Regions from separate parts of the Homo sapiens genome. Here region 2 is linked to region 1. Evidence: promoter capture Hi-C in 16 types of primary human blood cells and fetal thymus (Javierre and others, 2016). All regions are on one chromosome and are shown on one strand. Each heading gives the region's core, a stretch centred on a gene start or on the middle of the fragment in contact. The rest is flanking DNA. Distances are from core to core; before and after follow the strand shown. Region 1 holds the start of NRXN2 (neurexin 2). Region 2 overlaps FERMT3 (FERM domain containing kindlin 3).

What was found. The method cuts DNA at HindIII sites, captures the fragments that hold promoters and counts their contacts. A CHiCAGO score of 5 or more calls a contact.
Region 2: a fragment that was not itself captured here is called in contact with the fragment with the promoter of NRXN2 in region 1 in 1 of 17 cell types (naive B cells); the score reaches 5.1 in naive B cells.

What each region holds. Positions count from the first base shown.
Region 1 is chr11:64,721,562-64,724,734 of GRCh38, reverse strand. It overlaps NRXN2 (neurexin 2), which reads left to right and starts at 1,538. Exons shown (of 23, transcript NM_015080.4): 1 at 1,538-1,764. RefSeq lists an enhancer at 648-697 and silencers at 1,078-1,377, 1,364-1,658. The HindIII fragment of the contact is 9,459 bases long and covers 1-2,422 here.
Region 2 is chr11:64,208,215-64,211,387 of GRCh38, reverse strand. FERMT3 (FERM domain containing kindlin 3) reads right to left here. Exons shown (of 15, transcript NM_031471.6): 3 at 544-777; 4 at 217-336; 5 at 1-113. Among named protein-coding and RNA genes, the nearest start is that of FERMT3, 3.1 kb to the right of the region's middle. RefSeq lists enhancers at 2,819-2,898, 2,959-3,078. The HindIII fragment of the contact is 4,283 bases long and covers 1-3,173 here.

The sequences.
Region 1 (3,173 bases), core at 289-2,788:
TACCCCTTCACAGGCTGGGGAAGGAGTTTCCCACCCGGGGGGTTGGTGTCCGCATTAAGCCACTCAGTAATTGACCACTCTCTTTGAAGTGCCTGGGCAGGGGTCCAGGATGACTGTGGGCAGGTCCCCTGGGTGCAGCTGTTCTGGGCATGCATTAATTGCCTGGTGTAGGTACCTGTGTGCACAAGTGTGTGTGTTCTTGGGCAGTATATGCTTCCTGTGGGTGTGTTACCATGGTGGGGCATTTCTGCAGGTGTTCTTATGTGTCTCTGGGAATGCCCAGTGTTCACAGATATGTGTGCATGGCTGTGAGTGCCCCAATGTCCATGCATTGGTGGTTGAATGTAAGTGTTCTTGCATGTTGCCTCTGGCTAAGGAAGTGCCAACTACCACCAGCTGTGCAGATCACAGACCCTGCAACAGAAACCAGGGTCCTGGAGTGAGCTGGCAGAATGGTCTGGCACACATACACACACACACTCTGTCTCTCACTGTCTCATTCAGCAGCCCAGTGACCAACCTCGGGGTATACACACTAAGTGCCAGTGTGTGTACACTTTTATTGGCGGAGTGAGTGAAGGGTGTCCCCCAGTCCCCCACACTCATACACATGCACAGTGATGCATGTACCCTTACAGGAGAGACCTGCGCCCCCCAGCACCACTCTAACTGAAACTCATGGATGGGAGGAGGAGAACAGAGAAGGGGGCTGCTGCCAGGTGCCCTCAGTCACCAGGCATGTGCAGGCGCAACCCTGCCCCCACACCTACTCGTACCTCGGTCCAGGGTTCCAGGCAGAACTGAGAGTTTGGCCTCAAACTCTGGGATTCCCATGAGGCAGGACTGGGAAACCCCCAAGTTCCTAGGTCTACCCCGCCCCCATCTCTGCCTTTCCTTCCCCCACCGCCTCCGTCTTTATCCCAGCAAAGCCCCTTCCTCTTCAGTTCTGGGGGCTCCAAGCCAGGGGCCCTCCGGACGGTGGGAGGTGGGGGCCAGGCTACCGACTGGAAAAAGCCCCCAGCAGCCATGGACCCACCGAGTCCCCCTTCTCTAGGCTCCTCGAAGCCCGGGCCCGCCCCTGGGGGTAGCCAGCAGAGGGCGCTGCGGCCCAGGCCCCGCATCAGCCCTGCTCTCGCGGCGTCCCAAGTCGGGGTCCACAGCCTCTCCTTCGGCTTGTCCCAGCCCCGCGCTGCGCGAAGACCTGCTGGCCGTGGGGGGAGGGTGCGGGACCCAAGGCCCCGAACTAAGGGGCGAGGGGCGAGGGGCGAGAGTGCTTGGGTTCCCGGAAAAGACACTGAGGCCGGGTTTGGGGCCCGCCTGGTTGGGGGCCCGGGCGCCCGAGAACCTCGAGAGGCTGGGAGGAGCGCGGGTGCTGGGGCCGGGACGCCTGGGTCCCGCGCGAGGGAGGGAGTGGGCCTGTGGAGCCGCTGGACTGGCGGCTTCTGAGCCCTTGCATTGGCTGCGCTGCTCGCCCGTCAGCGCAGCGTGGTCCAATGCGCGCGTCTCGGGGGCGGGCACTGGTGCTGATGCTGCCGTCAGTCGGTGTTGCAGGGATGCGGCGGCGGGAGCAGCCGCCCTGACTCGCGGAGCATCCTCCTCGGAGAGGCACCGCGGCGGGGCGGGCGGGCGGGCGGGGACGCGGCGGGGAGGGAGAGAGGCGCGAGGCGGCAGACACCGCTAGCCCTGGCTCTGCCACCCGTCGGAGACGGGGCGGCCCTGTAGCTCTGCTACCCACCCTCCAGCTTCTGGCGCCCCGAGAACCAGGTAAAATGGGGGGGGGGGGGCGCTGCGGCGGAGACGGGCGGGGGGCGGGAGCCGATCGGGGGAGGGGAGCGGATCGGAGGGGGCGAGGGAGGCAGGACGGATGAATTGGGGGGCGGGGGCGCCGCGCTGAGAGGGCTGGCCCGGTGACAGCGAGGAGGCAAAGCCGCTGGGGGCTTGGGGGTCGGAGGCTCCTGTGGAAGGGGCACTGGCCCTGAGAGCTGAGGAGAATGGGGAGGGGTGGGAGGAAGGGTCTTTGGGGGAAGGGATGGAGAGAGGAGGGGCATCCAGAGGACTTAGAGGGGGTTCTTAAAGGGGGGTCCCCAGTCTGTGCTAGCCCCAGAGGCTTGAAGCAGCGCCGGGCCAGAGGAGCTGTTGTGTTCTGGAGGGTCTAACCAGCGAGAAACTGGGCTTCGTGGGAGGAGAGGAGAGGGGGCTGGAGAAGAGAGAGAAGTGGAGAGGGAAGGAAAGGGGCCAGGCCAAGGGCTTCGTCCTGAGGGGACCCACTGAGGACCAGGCTTTCCTGGGGGATGGGAGCCAAGGGGAGAAGAGGTTATTGGGAGAGAGCAGAGGGGAATGTGCCAAGGTGCTCCAGGCAGAGATGGGTCTGTGCTGGTGGAGAGCTGGGAAAGATGGGGTCTGAGGGAGAGGAGCGGAAGCTTGCGGGGGAAGGCTGGGGGTGATGAGACAGGGAGACTGGGAAATCAGTAGGAGGGGGCTTTGCTGGGGTGGGAATGCGCTGGGGGCGGTGACAGGGTTCTGGTCAGAGAGTGCTGCAGGGGGAGAGGAAGCTGCAGGGCCCTTGGCTTGCTCCCCCACCCCTAAAGAGGAAGGGACCATTTCTCATGTCCCAGCCTCCTCCCCCAGCTGAAGCAGCAATCTTCCCTGGGGTCTTTGGGTTGGGGTATGAGCCCTTGAACCCTTGATGGGCTTTTGGGGCACAATTGGCTTTGGGGTGCTGTTGTCTCCTTTACTCTCACCCCCCTCCTGAATCTTGGGAGAGGGCATTCGATGCCTCATTGAGCTAGCAAGGGCTGGGAGGGGCTTTTTCTTGGTGTCTGGAGGTGAAGGAGGAGGCTGTCCACCTGGAATAATGAAATAGATTTTTAGGGGGTGGGTCTTGGGTCCCCAGTCCCTTGGCTGCCCTGGGGGCTTCCAGATAGCCCTGTTTTTTCATGTGTTGGCGGGTGGGCGTCTCTCCTCTTCCATTCATTCTTATCCTTCCCTGTTGTCTACCTTCCCAGTGTCTGGGTGTTCCTTTTGGAGGAGGGTGGACATTAGGGTCTTACTTTCTCTGTCTTCTGCCAGAGAAGGAGAAAGAAAGAAGGGAGAGGGAAGGAGAAGGGGAGGGAGGTCTGCAGTCTGCTAACTGTGAGGCCTTCTGTTTTGTGGGTGCTTCAGCCCCTCAGTCC
Region 2 (3,173 bases), core at 103-2,602, 510 kb after region 1:
CAGGAGGGGGTCGGGTGGCGGCTGGGGCCGGCTCAGCATGTGGTAGCAGGCCTCAGTCTGGGCGCTGTCCGAGAAGTGAGCTGGCATCCCCCGGAACAGTGCAGGTGCCACGCCTGGAGTGCAGGTTGGGAGTCAACCAGGCCTGTCCCCCAGGGCTGGGACTCACGGGCCGGCCCCTGCCCCCAACCCCCCAGGCCCACCCCCACTTGCACTCACCCCCAGCCAAGACAACCTTGCTCAAGTCATAGAGCTCTTCCTCTGGCTCCTTCTCTTTCTTCTTCTTCTCCTTCTTCTCAGGAGCCCGGAGCAGGGACAGCTCCTCGGGGTGCCGGATGCCTGAGGGGAGCTAGGGTCTCAGCGGGGACTAGGTCCTGCTGCAGCCTCCCCACCTCACCCATGGGTGCTTGGGGCGGGTCACAGCCCTGCAGGCAGGGTGGCAACCCAGACAGCAAGGACAGCGTCAACAGAGCTGGGCCTGGAAACGGGGGAACCTGCCTCTTTGCATCACCCTCGTGGGCCAGGGGAATCAGCCGGGCAACTTACTGAGGAGGCGGCAGATGGCAGCCACAGCCTGGAAGAGGGGCTGGGAGAAGCTGGCACGGAGGCGCAGTGCGCGGCGGTTGGGCAACCGAAGGATGACGGGCCGGTGCTGGGGCCCAAAGAAGAGGCGTGCGTCGGCCAGGATCCCGTACTTGTCCAGTGTCCAGTGGGTCTGCAGCAGCCACTGCCTCTTCTGTTCCCACCAAATAGCATGGTCTGACCAGTCCTGCTTGCGATCTGTGGGGCACGGGGGCACATCTGGGTCCAACCTTCCTCCCTGGTGCCCCCAACACCCAGCACAACCCCAGGATTCAGAAGCCTGGGGCGACCACTCCCCTGCCCTGCCTAAGCCAAGAGTGGGGCAGCCTGGGCGGGCCTGGGGTCTACCCCATGGTAACAGCAGCAGGGCTCTCTGCAGGCAGCCCCTGATTTGGCCTTCTAGGCTTGGCTTCTATATCGCTTCCCAGGGGAGCTCTCCAACCCAGCATCTGAGTGCCCCAATCTTAGCGCCCCATCTCTTGCATTCCAGCCCACTGGGCTCCCTCCACATGACGCCCCCTCTGTCCTCCCATAATCCACGGTTTAACAGCCTCTGTCTTGCATTCTGGGGAGCTCCTGGAGGCAGAGACTACGTCTGTCTCACCGTTGTATGTCCTCAGGGCCTGGACCTGTGCCTGGCCTGGAGCAGTGAGCACTCAATATTTTTAGCTATTAGCTGTGTGACCTTGGACAAGCCACTTAACCTCACTGGGCCTCAGTTTCCCTGTAAGATACAATAACGATCTTACAAACTGGGACACGGAACAAGGCCTCCCATGTGGTAGCTGCAGGGTTTGCAGCAAACTTGTGCACGCACATGACGATCCATGAGTGAGCATTGAATTAGAGATGTGCGTCTGTCCCTTGTCAGCCAGCTGGGAACTGGAGTTACAGTAATGGAAGGCACAGGTCTCCCCGCCTCCTCCCTCCAGGAGCATGAACAGGTGGGAGAGAGCATAGGAAAAAGGCTGCCGGAAAGCTGCTCTGGGCACACAGCCCTTGAGAGTTTGCAAAGCCCTGTTTCCTGAGTTCCTCCCAGGTCCTCCCGGTGAGTTTTCTGATTCCCACTGCATCCCACCCACCTCAGCCAGCCCCCAACCCCACTGCTGCACATGCCGGGCATCACCACTGCTGCCAAACCAAGAGAAGCGCTCGTCCTCCGGCACTTCCCCTCCCAGGCTGGGCCCTTCCCTCCTGGGCACCCCAGTGGGACTCTGGCTGTGTGCCGCCGCATCCCCTTGTCTTGGCTCCTTGCTCTTCTCCTGTCCTCTCTGGCCCCTCTCCGGTCCCTCTCCTGACCGGCCCCTTACCTTGTCCTTTCCCCAGGTTCGGCCTGGGACCCTCTTCTCCTGCCTCGGCCAGGTCCCCTTACTGGGTCTCCCTATTCTGTGGTTTCAGTTGCCATTTTCTGCTGCCTCCCCATGCGTGGCCCTCGGCCCAGACCCTGCCCTGGGCCCCCAGCCAGAAACCCATGTGCTGCCAGCTGAGGGGCCTGTCCACCGGCTTCCTCCTTTCCAGAACCCTCTGTTCCTGTGGCCGAGTGGCTGACACTGGGACTGTAAGCACCATGACTCCTGGTCTCGGCTTTTGGAGCTCAGCTCAGACTCGCTGTGCACAGAGGTGCCCTCTCCTAGCCAGCTCCCCCTCCTCACCAGCTCCCTACACCACCTCTCAGGGCTGGGGGACACGGACTCGCGCCAAAGGCCCAGGCATCCTCCCTTTCTCTTCTAGCCACCACATGTAATCAATGCCAATCCCACCTCTAAAATCCACCCTCCTCTCCATCCTCCCTGCCCGGCCTTAGGAGGCCCTGGTGTCTCTAACCAGGACCACAGCCTCCTCAGGGGCCTGCCGCCACCAGCCTTTCGCCTTGCTGCTGACCTTAGCAGGACAGCCTCCTGCTGAGAACCCTTCGGTGGCCACCTTCCCCTCCAGAAGAAAGTCTAGACCCCTTCTGGAGGCCTTCGGGGCCATGCAGAGCTGGCCAGGCACCAGCCAGCCTCATTTCTGGTCACGCTCCCAGCATCCTCACCAGCCGAGAGCCCTAATTCACAGCCCTCCGAGTCCCAGCGCCACCACCTTGCTCCTCCCTGCTGAGGCCACCTCTCAGGACTTCTCCTGGGGTTATCCCCATCCTGGGCTCGGGGCAGCCCCCTCCTCTGGCTCCAGGCCCCCATGATAGCGCCCTCTGTGCGGCAGCCGGCACGCAGCCCCCATGGGTCAGTCTCACCCGCTGCTGCTCCAGGAGGCCAGGGACTGGCCCGGGGCGGCCAGGCTGAGCATCAGTAGACAGAGCTGATGTGCTTAGGAGTGACAGTATCCCCACCACAGGGAACACAGAGCTAAAGGAACTTGCCCTGGGGTGCCCAGCAGCGGGTAGAGCAGCGGGGTCTGTCTGACTCCAGGTTAAGGCCTCCTGCGTTACCCTCATGCCGTGCCCTGGGGCCACCCAGGTCTTCACCACCCTCTCTCTGTTCCTCACTTCTATTCTCACAGCTGCTCCGGGCCCTGCCCCTGGCAGCTCCCCTCACAGCCTCAGTCTTGTGGCCGGGCCGTTCTGGACCCTATCCTCTCCACAGTCGGACTGACCTCCT